2 separate regions of the Homo sapiens genome follow, and region 2 is linked to region 1. The links are contacts of gene promoters, found by promoter capture Hi-C in human tissues and cell types (Jung and others, 2019). All regions are on one chromosome and are shown on one strand. The core of a region is centred on a gene start or on the middle of the fragment in contact, and the rest is flanking DNA. Distances in the headings are between cores, read along the strand shown. Region 1 holds the start of CUX2 (cut like homeobox 2). Region 2 has its middle 27 kb from the start of LINC01404.

What was found. The method cuts DNA at HindIII sites, captures the fragments that hold promoters and counts their contacts. A contact is called where the count stands out against the background at its distance.
Region 2: a fragment that was not itself captured here is called in contact with the fragment with the promoter of CUX2 in region 1 in 1 of the 25 tissues and cell types used here (mesendoderm cells).

Annotation. Positions count from the first base shown.
Region 1 is chr12:111,032,482-111,037,231 of GRCh38, reverse strand. CUX2 (cut like homeobox 2) reads right to left here and starts at 3,067. Exons shown (of 22, transcript NM_015267.4): 1 at 2,992-3,067. The coding sequence starts at 3,054. The HindIII fragment of the contact is 13,154 bases long and covers 1-4,750 here.
Region 2 is chr12:110,981,848-110,987,020 of GRCh38, reverse strand. No RefSeq gene overlaps it. Among named protein-coding and RNA genes, the nearest start is that of LINC01404, 27 kb to the right of the region's middle. The HindIII fragment of the contact is 3,847 bases long and covers 1,265-5,111 here.

The DNA of each region.
Region 1 (4,750 bases), core at 1,818-4,317:
CCTGAACAGCCAGGAATGAAAGCCACGCACCTCCTCACATCACAGGCAGCTCAGCCTCGGGACGCGGGACCCCGGCTCTCCGGCTGCCTGGGGCTGGGCACGGGGACCTGCCTCTCCTACCTGGATCTCAGAAAAAGCCGGCAGAAGTTCTCCTTTCTGGCTATCTCCCCTATAAGAGGAAAGTAGGGGAGGGGCAAAAAATGAAAATAAAAGTGTGTCGTAGGAGTCACTGGCATTATGTACAAGAGAGGATCCCAGGCCAAAGTGCTTAGGCTCCTAATCCACTTCCAACAAAAATGCCATCAGTGAGGATATGGGGTGGGGTGGGGGTGGGGGGCTGCGGGCCTGTTGGCCAGGGGACCAGCTGAAGATTTCAGGCTGGGGGTGGGGAACGCGGCAGATGGAGGGCCAAAATGTTTGCACGCGGCCACGGCTGCCACGTTTATTTCTTTGCTTTCTAGAAGTGTGCTGCCTTGCAAACTCCCACAGGGACACCCCCTCCACTTAATATCGATGTAAATGAGTTTACCCCCCTTCCCTGAGAGCCTTCTCCTGTGTGCCAGACACACTAGCCATTGTTTTAACGAACAACCCCCCCCTTCACATATACACCCTGTAGGCTGGGAGGTCTGGGTCCTATCTCCCCATCACCTGAACAAACCCCTCCACCACCCCCTACCTTTATCCTTTCCAGTTCAAATTTGCTTTCCATCTATGCATCTTCTAAAACCCTAACAAAGGGTTCCCAGATTAATGGGCGTCCAGCTGGAATCAAGATTTGGGTGACCTCAACCGTTCCACAAAAGACCCCTTGGGTAGAAGACTGAAGACAGTGAGGTTCCAACCTCCCTAGTTCAGACATTAGCCCCCTGGGAGCCGCACCCTCCCCTCAGCACCCAGCCCCTGCCTCTCCCCGGGCTGCAGCCCGAGCTCCCCGGATTGAAAACGAGTTATCTAATGAAAATTGTGTTAACTGACATTCCGGCCGACCGGGAGCAAATACCAGCGCTGTAAATCTCGCCGCGGAAATTTTCTCCAGCCCAGAATAACAATAGGACCCTGCAAAGGGCTTTCGCCAGCCCTTCTGGTTCCTCTCCTCTTGTGTGCCACGTTCTTGTCATTCCTTATGTTACAGAACATCAATCATAAATAAAGACGCTGTCCCCCAGCCGTGCCCGGGTCTCATTTACAAACATTAGCAGGGAATACGATTACCATTGGCCTTCGTGCCAAGCCCAATGTGGCTGCCCAATTCTCCCTCTCTCTCTCTCTCTCTGCCTCCATAACCCCCACTCTTCCAGAAAGGCCACTTTAGCATCATTTAAGCCGGCAGGCACAGCTCGCAGCCCTGCCCGTCTCAGTTGGCCACCAAACTGTAGCCCCAACTCGAGTGCGGACCCGGAATTGCAAGGCACTCGGCAGTTATTAACTGCATGCCTCAGTGCCCCGATTTTCTCCCCAGCTCAATGGCTTTGGGGGAGGGGGAGAGCGAGGAGTGGGGCGTTCGGAAGGACGGGGACTGGGAAGCGGCCAGGACGGGGAGAAGGCGCGGGTGCTGGAACCACTTATCAGAAGAAACTTAACGAGATTTGCCGGCGGATTAAAAAAAAAAAAAAAAGTGGGTCCCTTTTTATCTCCAGACTGATGATCTCGCGTCTTCCGCGAATGTCACGGTCAAGGCAGGATGCTCTAACCGCCCTGTTATCCGCACCATTTTCCCGCCCCTGATCCCCGCCGCACCCGCCGAGACTTTGCGAGACTCCAAGGCTGGGGGGCCTTGCCAGGCGCGTCCGGGGCACTCCGGGAAAGAACAGAGGCCGGAGCCGCGCCTCCACGGTGCGTTCTCTGAGATTCCACCTCCCAGCCCCGGCTCCTACGGGGTCCGCAGAGAACACCTCCAAATCTAGGGGAGGCACACAGACTCCCACAAAGGGAGGATGGGGAGAAAGTGATGGGGTTTCGAAGAGTCGCCCTAGGGAAGGAGAGAGAAAGAGCAGGGAAGAGAGGAAAGAAACAGAAGAAAAGCAGAGACGGGAGAGAGGAGACGAGGGGAGCAGCGGGGAGAAACGCAGGAGGCAGAACAAGCAAGGAAATCTCTCATTTAAAAGTTCCCTTGGGCCCGAGGGCTGGGAGTCACCTGCTCTGCGCCGCTCCCGGCTCTCCACCGCCCTGGAGGCAGGAGCGCAAACTTGCGAGCGCCCGGGCCCACCTCCACCGCCCGTCTGCATCTAGACTTGGGAAGGGGATGGAAGGGGCGGGGGGGTAAAGGCAAGAAGCAAGACGAACCCCAAGACCCCGGCCCGAGGAGAAGAGGTCTGCCGGCGCTTGCGGCCAGTCCGGCGGCGGCGGCTCTGGCGGCGGCGGCGGCGGCCCCCGGGTGGCGGCGCGTCCGGGCTGCGCAGCCAGGCGGGCGGCGAAGGCTGAGGTGCCGGCGAGCGGCGGGGCGCGGAGCCGCCTCCTCGCCAACCCCGGCTCCCTCCTCCTCTCTCCTCCTCCTCCTCCTCTCCTCCTCCTCCTCCCTGCCCGCCAGCTCCCTCCCTCCCTCGCCGGAGCCCCAGCCGGGTGCGGACTGGCAAGCGGCGCGCTCCGCGGCCTCCCCGGGCGCCGCGAAGTTGGGAGGCGCGCAAAGTGCGGCTCAGGGGGGACCGCCGGGGGTTCCCGCCAGCAGCCCCCTGCCCGAGGCCGTAGCCCCTGCCTTCCCCGCTCCTCGCCCGGCCGCCTGGCCGCTCGGCCGCTCCGCCGACCGAGGGCTCACTAGCGCTTCTCCATGGTCGCGGCAGCTAATCGATGACTGAACCGAACAAAGAGCAGCGGCGAGATCAATTCCTAATACCTATCGATGGGCAGCGGGCGGCCGAGCCCCGGCGAGCCCCGGCAGCCGCCGCCCGCCGCCCCAGGGCGTCCGCCTGCCCGCCCGGGGACCTCCCCAATGCGCCCAGGGCGCGCCCGGGGGCTCCTCACGGCCGCGCGGCCGGCGCTGCCCGCACTAACCTGGAGTCGCCGTAGATCAAATCGCTTCCAATATTGAAACATCGATCCCACATTGGCGGCCATCTTGGGGGCTATCGAGACGCGCACACACAAGAGTTTGGCTTTTCTCAATGGCTGCACTCAATATCCGGGCTGGACTCCCCCCAGCCCCGGGGCCGCCGCCGGCCGCCCGGGCCCTGAGCGCCGCGGCCCGGGGCCCCTCGGGCGCCCTCCGGCCTCCTGCCACCCGCTGCCCCTCGCCGCCGCCGCGCCGCCGCCGCCGCCGCCGCCAACGGGCCCGGGAGCCGTGCGCCCCCCCGACCCCCGGAGGGCGCGGGCGGAGCGCGCCGGGCGGGGAGCTCGGCGCCCGCCCGGGGGAGGCAGCCGGGGATGGGGTGGGAGGGGAGGGGTTGGGGGGAGGCAGCCTCTCCGAGAGGCGCCGGCGCCGCCGCTGCCCTGCCTGCCGCCGGCTCCCGGGCCCGCGGAGCGCTCGCTGCATCTCCCCCCCAAGTCCGGGGTCGGTGTGCCGCGCGATTGCACTTGACTTTGGCTTTTTGCAAACTTATCAATACTGACGTAACGTGCTGATCAATGCAAAGGGAAGTTTGGGAGGGGGCGCTGCGGGAGGCGGGCGCGCGGGGCGCCTACCCCCGCTTGCACCTGTCTACCCCCAGCTCCCGGCATTGCACGCTTAAAAAAAAGTTAATAGTTTGAAATGCATTTTTTTTTCTTTTGCAATCGGAGCACACACAACACGTGCCTCGGGCTGCCGCCGCTCCATCGCCAGATATGCTTGGGATCCGAGGGTCGCAGCCAGCACTTGGGGCTGCGTAGACGCGCCGGCCGGAGGGAGGGTGGGAGCCGCCCGGGGGCGCCACTGAGTCGTGGGAAATGTCACCACCACCGCCCACAGTTTCCGCGCCATTATATTATTATTATTGGCGGGGAGGGGGGCTTCGTCTGAGTAGTAGCTCAGGGTTCTTTACGGGCGGGGGCCGAGGGCGGGGCCTCAGGTCCTTTGGAATAGGGATTTCTGTTGTTATTATCTGGGGGGTCTTTAACCCAATTATAGGGACTCCCCCACAGCTTTGCAAGGTGAAACCCTTTTACTGTGATGATGATTATTGGAGGTTTTGTTATTTGGTTCTGAACCAAACCTCTGGAGGGCCTTTTCCCCCAGTGGGCTTGTTTTATTGTTATGACTGTTGAGGGTGCCCTACCCCTGCTGTGGGGGCTCCGGATCCTTAAAAACCTCGGAGGTTTCTGCTGTTGTTATCATCATTATTATCCGGGGCTCCGTTCTTTGCAACATGACATTCCTTTATTGTGATTGTCTTTGGGGAGAGGGTCTTCAGCATGGCTAGAGGGAGGTTCCGGTCCTTTGCAATTCTTCGGACTCTTGACAACCGGGGTGACTGGATTTCTTGTTTTACATTTTTCTGTCTGCTTTTTTGTTTGTTTGTTTGTTTGTTTGTTTGTTTGTTTTTGCCTCTGTGCAAGCTCGAGGTCCTCTGTTTCCACTTCCCCTGGAGGTGAGATGTCACCTCCAGGGGGAACTCATACTCCCAGCCCCCTCCATCACCAACCCCCTTGCCTATCCCTGCCACCACCCTTAAAGGTGAGGTCACCCTTCCTCTCTGGCTTATTCCCCTGATACATAGCACCGCACCCTCTTCCCCACTCAAAAAAAGGGGACATGTTTTTCCTTTTTCTCTGATCAAAAGATTTGCTTTTATGGACAGCAAATGGAAATTATATTCTTTTTATGACCCAGCCTAGA
Region 2 (5,173 bases), core at 1,939-4,438, 50 kb after region 1:
TGGCTTTTGGCCTCATGAGGGATATTGGCAGAGTTTTTGGTAGCAGTGCCCCATGAAAGATATAGCAAATGCACGCCTAGCCCCTATCAGGTATTCTGAAAGCAATCTAATTGGCAGATTATACCTACAGAGTGGCAGCTACAGGATGGGATTCAGGAATGGTGTGCACCAGGGGCTCTTTGAGAGTATCCTCTAGAACACAAAGTTAGTGAGTTGATAATAGATGTTCTACGAGAAAAGCATTCCCTGGTCAATTAAGTATGGGCAACAGCGAGATTAACAAAGTTCCACGGTTTATTTCATGCAGAAATTGTCAGAGCTTTTAATGTCTTAAGGCTCATTTGACTTTCCCAAGAAGGGGTAGAGGATTTAGTGTTTCCCAAGTTGATTTGCGTAGAGAACGCTTTTTTTCCCAAAACAAGCTAAAGAACTGGGGTTCCAGGGATTTCACTTTGGGAGCCACTGGGTTACACCTTCCTTTCCAAGTTTACCTTCTTACAATTGAGGGTGCAGCCTGATCATCTTGATTGGACGTAAGTGTGTCACCAAACACTGAATGAACATCTGTCAAAGACTTGTGTGTGTTGGTGCTGGGGAGGCAGCCTGGAAATGACACAGTCTCTGTCCTCAAGGAGAACATGATCTAACCAGGCAGAATACTAGCACTAACAACAACAACGGTAATAATAGCAGCTCTCATTTACTGAGCATTTGCTACATTCCAGGCACTGTGCTAAATGCATGCTCAAACAAGCTCATGTAAACACGTCAATAGTGGGAACAGTGTTATTATTCGCATTTTACAGGTGAAGAGATGAAGTTCAGAGACAGCAAGTAACTTGGCCAAGGGCACACAGCAAAGAGGTGTCAGAGTGGGGCTTTGAGCAGATTGTCTGAATCTGAAGGTCACAGACATCAGCCCATTTGCTCTAAAGACCTGGTCAAAGGAGAAAAGCAAAGGGGTTAAGTCATAGGCCACCAACATAAGAAGAGTGTAGCAGAGACCTCTTGGCACCTTCTCCAGTTTGTGATATGAGGTGTTCCTAGCCCAAAAAAGGGCTCTAGGGTGAGAAGGACCAGGGGCTGGGTGAGAACTGGGGAGAAGCTTGAACTCCACACATAAATATCTGTAAGGAATGGAGCAATGGCTATAAGTTATCCCAGCCATGGGAGAGCTGGAGAGGAAACTCAGGATGATAAGAAGGAGGAGGCCAGGAGACACAGTGGGAGGAATGTGGACTGGAGAACCAGGAGAACCAGCCTCTTCTCTGGATCTTGCTCCAATTTACTGTGCAGCCTTGCACAGGTCACTTAACCTCTCTGGTTTATCGAAGTCTCAGCATCACACACCACTCCTGTACTCATACGAGAACTATGACAGTGCTTCCTCCAAAAGAGAGGCTCTTCCAAGGGCAAGGAGAAGCTTCAATTCACCTTCTGCTTCCCAGTGTATGGTATCATACCCCGCACACTTTAAGTTTCCCATAAATGTTTGTTGATTGAATGAGTGAATGAGTGAAAAAGTAGGTGAAACTGTAAGGGGAAGAGGGTCAACTTAAACTGGCACCAGAGTAGAAGCTCCTGAGACGTATTTTCCCAGCTTTCCACTAAAATACCTAAGAAGGCAGAAAGAATTGAAAACTCACAGTGCTGACACCCAAGACTGACAGGCCCTTTTTGCTAGAATCTGGGAGGAATTTCCATAAATACAAGGCAGATGGAGATGGGTTGAGATAAACAATGGGGATTCTGTTCAAGTTTTATCTCCTGAGTTAGGGGAACCACTCCAGGCCAAAAAGAGGTCGAAAAGTACTCAACAATTTCCCTGCTTGCAACCCCAGTCTCTGAGACCCGGAGTCTGTGCCAATCAGAAACTTGGGGTTGGAGGAGGGGTGGAAGTTTTCTCCACTGTGTGGTGAGGAGGGGTGTGTAATTTTATAGGTGAAGTACTCTTTTTCTTACTGGCCCATAGTTCTACTGAAGTTAGAGACTGAAGTTTCCAAGGCCAGCCATGGTGCCTCACGCCTCAAATCCCAACAGTTTGGGAGGTTGAGGCAGGAGGATCACTTGAGGCCAATAGTTAGAAACCAGCCTGGGCAACATAGCGAGACCCCGTCTGTACTAAAAATACAAAAATTAGCTGGGTGTGGTGGTGCACACCTGTGGTCCCAGCTACTTGGGAGGCTGAGGTGGGAGGATCACTTGAACCCAGGAGTTTGAGGCTGCAGTGAGCTATGATTGCACCACTGCACTCCAGCCTGGATGAGAGATAAAGACTTTGTCTCAAAAAAATAAAAATTAAAACATTTAAAAAAATGAAGTTTCTAGAAGACTATATAGGTCAGGGGAGATAAAATAGAGGGAAGAATGTCAAAAGCACTTTGATTCCCAAGAGGGACAACTCCCAGAAGTGCTATTGCCCATGGAATGGAGTGCGTGCTGGGGATTATAGTTTTTAATGCATTTCTTTTAGTTCATTGTGCCAAAGAGCCAACAGTGCAGTGGGATAGAAGGGGTTCCCTCCTCAGTTCAACACAGTGTAATAGGCGAGCACCTGGTTGACACTGCCTCTAGTTGCTGTACAGACCAGCCAGCCTTTCCTCTCCAGGTTTAGATTATAAAGTGGTGGTGGCTGGGCACAGTGGCTCATGACTGTAATCCCAACACTTTGGGAGACCAAGGCGGGTGGATGGCTTGAGCCCAGAGTTCAAGACCAGCCTGGGCAACATGGTGAAATCCCATCTCTACAAAATATTTAAAAAGTCAGCTGGGCGTGGTGGTGGGTGCCTATAGTCCCAGCTACCTGGCAGGCTGAGGTGTGAGGATCACTTGAGCCCGGGAGACAGAGGTTGCAGTGAGCCGAGATCGCACCACTGCATTCCAGTCAGGGTAACAGAGTGTCCCTGTCTCAATAAATAAATAAATAAATAACAAATAAAATGGTGGCGTTTGGGGTGAGGAGCTGGGGTCAACCGGTACTTTAGTGGACAATGAGAAGTACTGAGGGCAATTCACACAACCTGTCTGTCGGTAAACACAAGCCTAGGTAATAACCAGCTTCTGCAAAGATGAATAAACAAAAGTCAATCGGTGGAGAGTATGCAAAAAATTACTGCATAATGAGAGGAAGGAAATGTCTTTCTAAAAGGAAGAAGCTACCTTTAAAAAATATTCACTGTGTGTCCCAGAAGAAAAACAATGGAAATTTGTCTTGTGTGCTACATAGAACATATACAAAGGGGATAATTTCAATAAAATAGGAGCAGAAGTTTCTAAGAACAGTGTAGACAGAGATTAAAAAACAAAAGCAAAACTATGATTGCAATGACAGAATTTAAATCCCCAGTGGGGGTGGTTAAAGTGCAGCAGTGACCTTGCAGGAAACCAAAATCAGTAATATGGGAGCCAAGCTCGAGAAGCTCTTGTAGCATAAAGAGGAAAAATGATAAATGTTATGGACAGAAAGATTATTTATGAGGGGCAATATCAGCTTAAGGAAAACGGGCATTCATGATGGAAAAAAAGAAATAAAATGCAAAAACAAACATGGACAAAAATTACAGAAAGCATTCTGGGTCAGAAAAAAATAAAGCCCAAGTTGCTGGGTGTGGTGGCTTACACCTGTAATCCCGGCACTTTGGGAGGCTGATGTGGGTAGATCACTTGAGGTCAGGAGTTCAAGGCCAGCCTGGCTAACATGGTGAAACCCCATCTCTACTAAAAATACAAAATTGGCCGGGCATGGTAGTGCATGACAGTGATCCCAGCTACTTGGGAGGCTGAGGCAGAAGAACTGCTTGAACCTGGGAGTTGGAGGTTGCAGTGAGCCAAGATCATACCACTGCACCCCAGCCTGAGTGACAGAGTGAGACTCCTCCAAAAAAAAAAAAAAAAAAAGGCCAACTATACAGGAAAAAGGACTTATCACAATTCAGGCAAAATTACTGAGAAGAAGCGCACATTTTTCTGGCTATCTTTTGCTTTGTAATGAACCCCATCATCTCACTATTATCTCTGATGATTCTGTGGGTGCCCTCGGCACAGCTGGGTGACCTTGCTCAGGGTCTCTGGTTGCAGTCAGCTGGTGGCAGGGATTAGATCATTTGAAGGCTTCTACCGTTGTGTCTGGGATCTGGGCTGGGATGGCGGGAACAGGTAGGGGCTGGCTGGGCATCTCTTTCTCTTCACTCCACCTGTCTGTGGGCTAGCTTCAGCCTCCTCACAGCCTGGCAGTCTCAATCAAGGTGACTGGGCTTCTCCCATGGTGGCTGGCTTCCTCCAAACTGAATGTTCTAAGAAGCCCCGGAATAAGCTTCAAGGCTTCTTCTGTGCCTAGCTTCAGAAGGCACACAGTCTTCTGAGAGTCTTCTTTTCCATTTCACTCTATTGGTCAAGTCAAAGAAGTGGAGAAAGAGATTGTACTTCTCAATCGGGAAAGGCTTGCATGTACGGGAAATGAAGGAATGGATGGTGGCCATCTTGGAAACAAGCTCCCATCCCTACCAACATGCCCTTAAAAATATTTCAAGGAAAAACCTCTAAGGGTCCAAGTTGAAAACACAGGTTGCCTGAGAAAGGTAAGAATTGAATTTCACATATGCAACCCCAATATGGAGCAGTAGCCTCAGAGTTACAGAGCAAAATTATGTTCATAGTAATTTTATACTCGATCAAGTTATTACTCATGTGTGAAAGCAACTAAGGAACATTCTCTGATAGTCAAGGGCTCAGAGAATGTAATACTTGTATGATCTTTTGAAAAAGCTACTTGAAGATATATTCTAGTCAACCAAGAAGTGAATCCAAATCAAAGGATGCCTGAATTGGAAAGCCAATGAACTGAGTGTTTTCTGTTTAGTGGAAATATTTCCAAGAATAGCAAAGCTCCTCAATATTTGGTGATGATCATAGAAAGAATAAACGGAGGATGAAAAATTTCTGCTGTAGAATCTGCAGATTTGCCTCTACCACTCTGTGTGTCCCAAGATGCCGGGTGTGTGGTCAGGAATCTGGTGCACATTTCTTTTTCTCTTTTTTTTGAGACAGAGTCACACTCTGTGGCCCAGGCTGGAGTGCAGTGGTGTGATCTCTGTTCACTGCAACCTCTGCTTCCTGGCTTCAAGCGACTCTCCTGCCTCAGCCTCCTGAGTAGCTGGAATTACAGGTGCAGGCC